Linked DNA regions of Homo sapiens: region 2 is linked to region 1. The links are contacts of gene promoters, found by promoter capture Hi-C in blood cells and fetal thymus (Javierre and others, 2016). All regions are on one chromosome and are shown on one strand. The core of a region is centred on a gene start or on the middle of the fragment in contact, and the rest is flanking DNA. Distances in the headings are between cores, read along the strand shown. Region 1 holds the start of CD244 (CD244 molecule). Region 2 has its middle 22 kb from the start of ITLN1.

Evidence for each region. Contacts are between HindIII fragments. The CHiCAGO score rates a contact against its expected background, and 5 or more counts as called.
Region 2: a contact is called between a fragment that was not itself captured here and the fragment with the promoter of CD244 in region 1, in 1 of 17 cell types (erythroblasts). The highest score is 6.5, in erythroblasts.

What each region holds. Positions count from the first base shown.
Region 1 is chr1:160,861,173-160,864,318 of GRCh38, forward strand. It overlaps CD244 (CD244 molecule), which reads right to left and starts at 1,715. Exons shown (of 9, transcript NM_016382.4): 1 at 1,445-1,715. The coding sequence starts at 1,505. RefSeq lists an enhancer at 1,531-1,580. The HindIII fragment of the contact is 2,100 bases long and covers 1-1,742 here.
Region 2 is chr1:160,905,927-160,908,896 of GRCh38, forward strand. No RefSeq gene overlaps it. Among named protein-coding and RNA genes, the nearest start is that of ITLN1, 22 kb to the left of the region's middle. The HindIII fragment of the contact is 675 bases long and covers 1,337-2,011 here.

The DNA.
Region 1 (3,146 bases), core at 465-2,964:
GCTCTCCTGCCTAGAATCCTGGGCCACTAGGCCCCCCAACCCACCCACAAGAGCTGCAGGCTCCACTCCTCCCTCCCTGCTCCCTGTTCCTCATCATGCTCTGCCCTAGGCTGCCTGCATCCTTACAAATGTTGAGTCCACCTGAGCCTTGACTGTGTCTTCCTGAAGGACACAAGAATGCTCAGGGACTCGGTAACTGAATTGAGTACCTGGGCATGGGACTTTATTGCATATGGGGCTTCTACCTGGCCCTGAACCCACACAACACTATGCCTCAGTTTCCCCTCTTTGTGCCCAGAGTGTACCCTCCTCTAATTCCACGCTCTCCACCTCCGTGAAGCCCCTGCAGAGTCACTGATCTAAAATGCAGAACCCTGGCTGGGCATGGTGGCTCACACCTGTAATCCCAGCACTTTGGATGGGGGAGACCAAGGTGGGCAGATCACCTGAGGTCAGGAGTTCAAGACCAGCCTGGCCAACATGGTGAAACCTGGTCTCTACTAAAAATACAAAAATTAGCCAAGCATGGTGGCGCACGTCTGTAATTTCACCTACTCGGGAGGCTGAGGCATGAGAATCACTTGAACCCGGGAGGCAGAGTTTGTAGTGAGCCAAGATCACGCCACTGCACTCCAGCCTGGGTGACAGAAGGAGACTCTGTCTCAAAAAATAAATAAATAAATAAAAATTAAAAATGAAATAAATAAATTAATTCAATTAAATTAAATGCGGGATCCAGGTTTCAGAGCATCCTGGACCCCAGAACTGGAGAAAGAGGGGAGCAGCCCTCAGCTGGGATCCCCAGGAGTAAATGTTAGATGGCTCCATGCCTGGCTGACAGCTTTAGGTTTGCTGTGGAGCTTCCTCATATTGTCTCCTTCTTCTGCCCCAACCCTGCATGTCCCTAATAATTTCCAGGCTCCTGTGGCATCTGGATGGCTGAAGAAGCCGGGGAGATGAGGGACCATGCCTTCCAGCTTCTTCCTGGCTGCTGGCCTCGCCCTCCCCTCCCTGGGCTCAGCTTTCCTGCCTCAGGGGTCCATCCATCTGTCTCTGAGCTCGAGAACCACCCACTTCCTTGGGACTGCTTCTCTTCTCTCATGCCACAATTGGAGGATGCAATTTTCATCATCTTTACAGGCGGCTGGAAGGAGGCTTCTCTCTCCACTACACGGAAGGGTAAATTGAAGCCAGTGGGAAGGAATCTCCTCACCCAAGACTTCCTGGATTGCTGGTGGCAGGGCCAGATACCCCTCTCACAGACCTCCCAGTGCACTGCCAGCCTGTCCTGTCTGATTTAGACTGTCAGAGCTGTCAGGAGCTGCTCGGAGTCAAGTTCCAGATGACTGTGTATGTGGCACAAGCAGAGGCTCTGGCTCTGATCTCCCTGAGGGGCACAGCTCCTAGTCCCTCCCTCGCCCCACGCCAGGTAGGACCTCCTTACCTTTGCCCTGATACACCTTGAGGAGCAGGAGGAGTATGAGGGTGACCACTTGCCCCAGCATTTCCACAGGACAGAGGGGCCAGGCCAGCCCCTCCACCCCACCAGACTCTCTGCCGTGCACGGGCTCAGCAGTCCCCAGTCAGCAAGAGGACGATGGGGAGCAGAACTGCCTTGCAACCTGTCCAGCCACAGTTTCCTCAATTAGAGGCTGTTAACGCCTGCTGTGAGCTGACAAGGCCACTGAGAAAGCCCCAGCGCCTGGAGCTGGTCTGACAGTTCCCACAAGCCAAACTGGTGAAGCTTACCTCAAGTGGGAGGGTGCTTGAAGTTCACAGTGACTCACAAAGCCAGTTTCAAAATTGCATCCCGTTCTCTGCTTCAGCCCAAGAAGTCTTCCAATTCTCTGAATCCTATATGGAGAGACCCCCATGGGGGCCAAACAGCCAGTATCCCCAACTGTTCCATTCCAACAGACATTGTGGAGGTGGAGTGGAGAGGGGCTGGAGGAGGAGTGGGCTGAAACGTAGGGCCCTGGATAAGCGGCTAACAGTGTTGAAGGAAAGGAGGAGTAGCTGAGAGAACATAGGAAGAGACCTAAGGGCTGGAGGCACTAGAAAAATCTAGCAAGCCTGGGGATTCCATGCAAGTTGACACCAAAGTTTAAGCACATGTAAATTAAATTTGTTTCATAAGAATTTGTTTCACACGGGGCACAGTGGCTCACGCCTGTAATCCCAACACTTTGGGAGACTGAAGCAGGCAGATCACTTGAGATCAGGAGATCGAGACTAGCCTGGCCAATATGGTGAATCCCCACCTCTACTAAAAATAGAGAAATTAGCCAGGCTGGGTGGCGTGCACCTGTAATCCAAGCTACTTGGGAGGCTGAGGCAGGGGAATCACTTGAGCAAAGGAGGTGGAGGTTGCGGTAAGCCAAGATCACGCCACTGCACTCCAGCCTAGGTGACAGAGCGACACTGTGTCTCAAAAAAAAAAAAAAAAATTTTGTTTTGCTCCACATTTCCGATCTGTATGCCTAGATTCCCTCCCTTCCTCTTTTTCTACTTTTCTATAGTAGTCCTCTCTTCCCTCTTTTGTCTTCTCCCAGAAGTGACATGGGCCTATTTTTGCTGCCTTCCCATCCATGCTTGGACGCCACCCTCCAGGAAGGCCAGGCAGCTCTGGATCTGCTTAGGCCCCCATGGAGGGGTGGGGACAGCGGCATCCCCCCTCCCCTGGAACACTGTGCTTCAAGGCCAGGCCCCAGGGTTCATGCCTCTTTCTTTCTTCCTTCTGCTTTCCCCTTAACAAATACTTTCAGTTCCCTTCAAGTCCGCTCTTATTCTCTTTTTCCATCCTTTGGTCCATTTCCAGCCACCCTGTCTGAACTGGGCAGGGGGCAGCAGACTGACAGCTTCAGCTGCCAACAGAGGCAGCAGCGGGGCTCTGGACAGAGCGCTGGATTTAGAGTCAAAGACTTGGACTTGCAGCTCCCATTCAGCAACTTACAACCTATGTGATTCTGGCCTTGTTGCTGTCTGAGCCTGTAGGGTCAACAATACATCCTCCCCACCTTCACAAGGCAGTTTTCAGGATCAAATTAAAAATGATACTCCAGAATATGCACACAAAAAACACTGGACATAGATGAGGTTTTTGTGGTTTTGTTTTCATTTTTTTAAGCTCTGAATAGCTTTTTCCA
Region 2 (2,970 bases), core at 424-2,923, 45 kb after region 1:
AGACCGGAGCTTTTTCCTCCCCCAATAGAAAAGCCATTGCCCTCCTTTCCTCCACCCCTAAAAAAATCCACATCTATTGGCCCTGTTCAGGCTACAGTGCCTCCCATCCCCCTGGAGGAGATTGGAGGCCACCCAAGGGATGGACGGTTCTTGGATAAGACCCCCTGTCAGTGAACATCTATATTGTCACGCACGTCCGTGTGAAGAGACCACCAAACAGGCTTATGTGAGCAATAAAGCTTTTTAATCACCTGGGTGCAGGCGGGCTGAGTCTGAAAAGAGAGTCAGCAAAAGGTGGTGGGATTATCATTAGTTCTTATAGGTTTGGGATAGGCATACAAAGTACATTCCCAAGGGCGGGGAGAATATTACAAAGTACCTTCCTAAGGGCAGGGGAGAATATATCATATCAGTTAGGGTGGGGCAGGAACAAATCACAATGGTGGAATGCCATCAGTTTAGCCTATTTTCACTTCTTTTGTGGATCTTCAGTTGCTTCAGGCCATCTGGATGTATACGTGCAGGTCACAGGGGATATGTTGGCTTAGCTTGGGCTCAGAGGCCTGACATATATGATCAGGTGAACGCGTTCTCAGTGACGACTCCTCATCAAACTTCCCTAGTAGAGGGGTGCCTCCAGGAGGGACTTAAAAAGGGAGACTCTTAGGCACTTTTTGGCGCATTCCCTGTCATTGTTCAAAATGATAGGAGACGGCATGAGAGTTTGCCTTTTACTGTTTTTAAAGAGATAAAGAAAAGTATCTGTGAAAATGGTGTACATTCACCCTTTACCCAGGGGATGATTGAGGCTCTGGGAAATGGCTATAAGATGACTCCGCATGATTGGAAAACTTTAGTAAAAGTTTTGGTTTCAGCTGCAGAATATACTGTGCGGTGGAGTGAGTACAGTGATCTATCCATGCAGCAGCCCTTGCAAAATTTGGATAATAATATCCCAACACAGCTTGATATGCTATTGGGACCAGGTCCTTTTGCTTGAGCTCAGGCTCAAGCTCAAATAAACAGCCATCTATTTCCACAATGCTTGCAGCTAGCAATACAGGCATAGAAGAGGATACCCACGGGACAATCCCAGGGTTCCTTTATAACAGTTAAACAGAGTGCCACAGAAACATTCCTTTATAACAGTTAAACAGAGTGCCACAGAAACATACGTTGAATTTATCAACTGATTGCAAGCTGCACGTAGTGACCAACATCACATCAGCAGAGCTATAAAAAAACTCTGCTATTCAAATCCACTGCACACGGAATAAATCAGAAGATAAAATAAAAGTCTGTCAAAATTCATACAACTTGTGAGTGAGTTCTAAAAAGCTTAGTTTAGAAGGGCTAGAGAAAGAAAAACTTCAATGGGGCCCAAATCAGAATGCTTGTAATGAAACCCAGTCTCCAGGAAAACAACACTCACATGTGTTCAATCATATAAAATGATTTGTAACATCTCTAATTAGGTGAATCAACTAGAAACAAACTCACTAGTCAAAATAAATTTTTAAAGTATCTTGTAACCTATATTTTACTTTTCTGAGTATATTAAGGGGCTGCCAGCCCAGAGATATACTTAAGATATAGGCAAAAAATCCCCAGGCCTTTACACAAAAGATTTCCACTTTCAAACCAATGTCAGTGGACATTGATAAAAGTATAGCAGCATCCTCTACTAAGGTGATTTCATTTATTCCCTGCAACCCACTAATAAATATCCCACTTCTCCCAAACAGTATTTAAGCTCCTAGCTAAGCAAAAAACTATTGTCTATTAGCATTCAACTGAAGAAAAGAAAGATAAAATATTGTCTTGTTTCCATCACTGTATTACTTGGGCAACATAATTACATAATTCTTACCCTAAGAGAAAGCCTTCATATTTTTTTAAAAGTCTTTTCAAATAAAATCTTCTTATGTTTTAAACAATATAAAATACAAACTTTCACTTTATTTATTGTAAATTATAAAGAGATCATTGTCTTAATATATTGTTAGCTTCAAGCTTCCTAAAATATAAAAACATTGTTGTCTAAAGTCACATATTAACACTAAGCTCCGTGGTTTACAGAATCTCCTACATTTTTGCAAGCTCAAGCTGATCATTCCTTTTTTTATCAGAACAACCACAGTCTTAAACAACAGTTTTATTTGGCGCTCACTCAAGCTCGCATGATTATTAAAACCTGTCCTGACTGCCAATGGCATTCGCTCTCCCCTTTTTCGTTAGGACTTGGTGCCAACCCACGAGGTCTGGTGCCTAATGCTATCTGGCAAACTGATATTACTCAGCATCCACCCTTTAGATGCTTCAAATTTCTCCACGTTACTGTAGACACTTATACAGGCCTGAAATATGCTACTCCTCAGACTACAGAAAAAACTAAAGATGCAATTGCTCATCTTTTTAAATCTATTATGACTTTAGGCCTTCCACAAATTACAAAAACTGATAATAGACATTGCTGTCTTAGTGCTCGATTTACATATGCATTTACAACTGTGGCACATACAACACAAGACTGGCATTCCTTATAACTCAACCAGTCAGGCCAATGTTGAGCGAGCTCATCAAACTCTTAAAGTATATCTTAACAAACAAAAAAGGGGGAATATTGGGCTTTCTCCTCGAGAACAGGTAGGAGACAACTGAACCCCTCCTGATGATGAAAGACCTGTCGTTGGAGAATCGACCAGCAATGATAGCGATGACTCGGAAGGCATCTGACATTACCTGAGGGCAGCTAAAGAAATTGGATCAACAGGCAACTATCCAGCTTGTTGCCATGGGAGCCCCTGCAATTGCAGAGAATTGGTTTCTTATGTATCTGGCAGTAATTGGGGGAGCTTTTGAGAAAGTAAGACAGACATGGATGCTGGGGTGGCTGGTGATTCTCATCCTTTGCCAAGTGGGATCAGCTCAAGAACATGTTTACTGGAATCATATTCTGAATCCCACTGT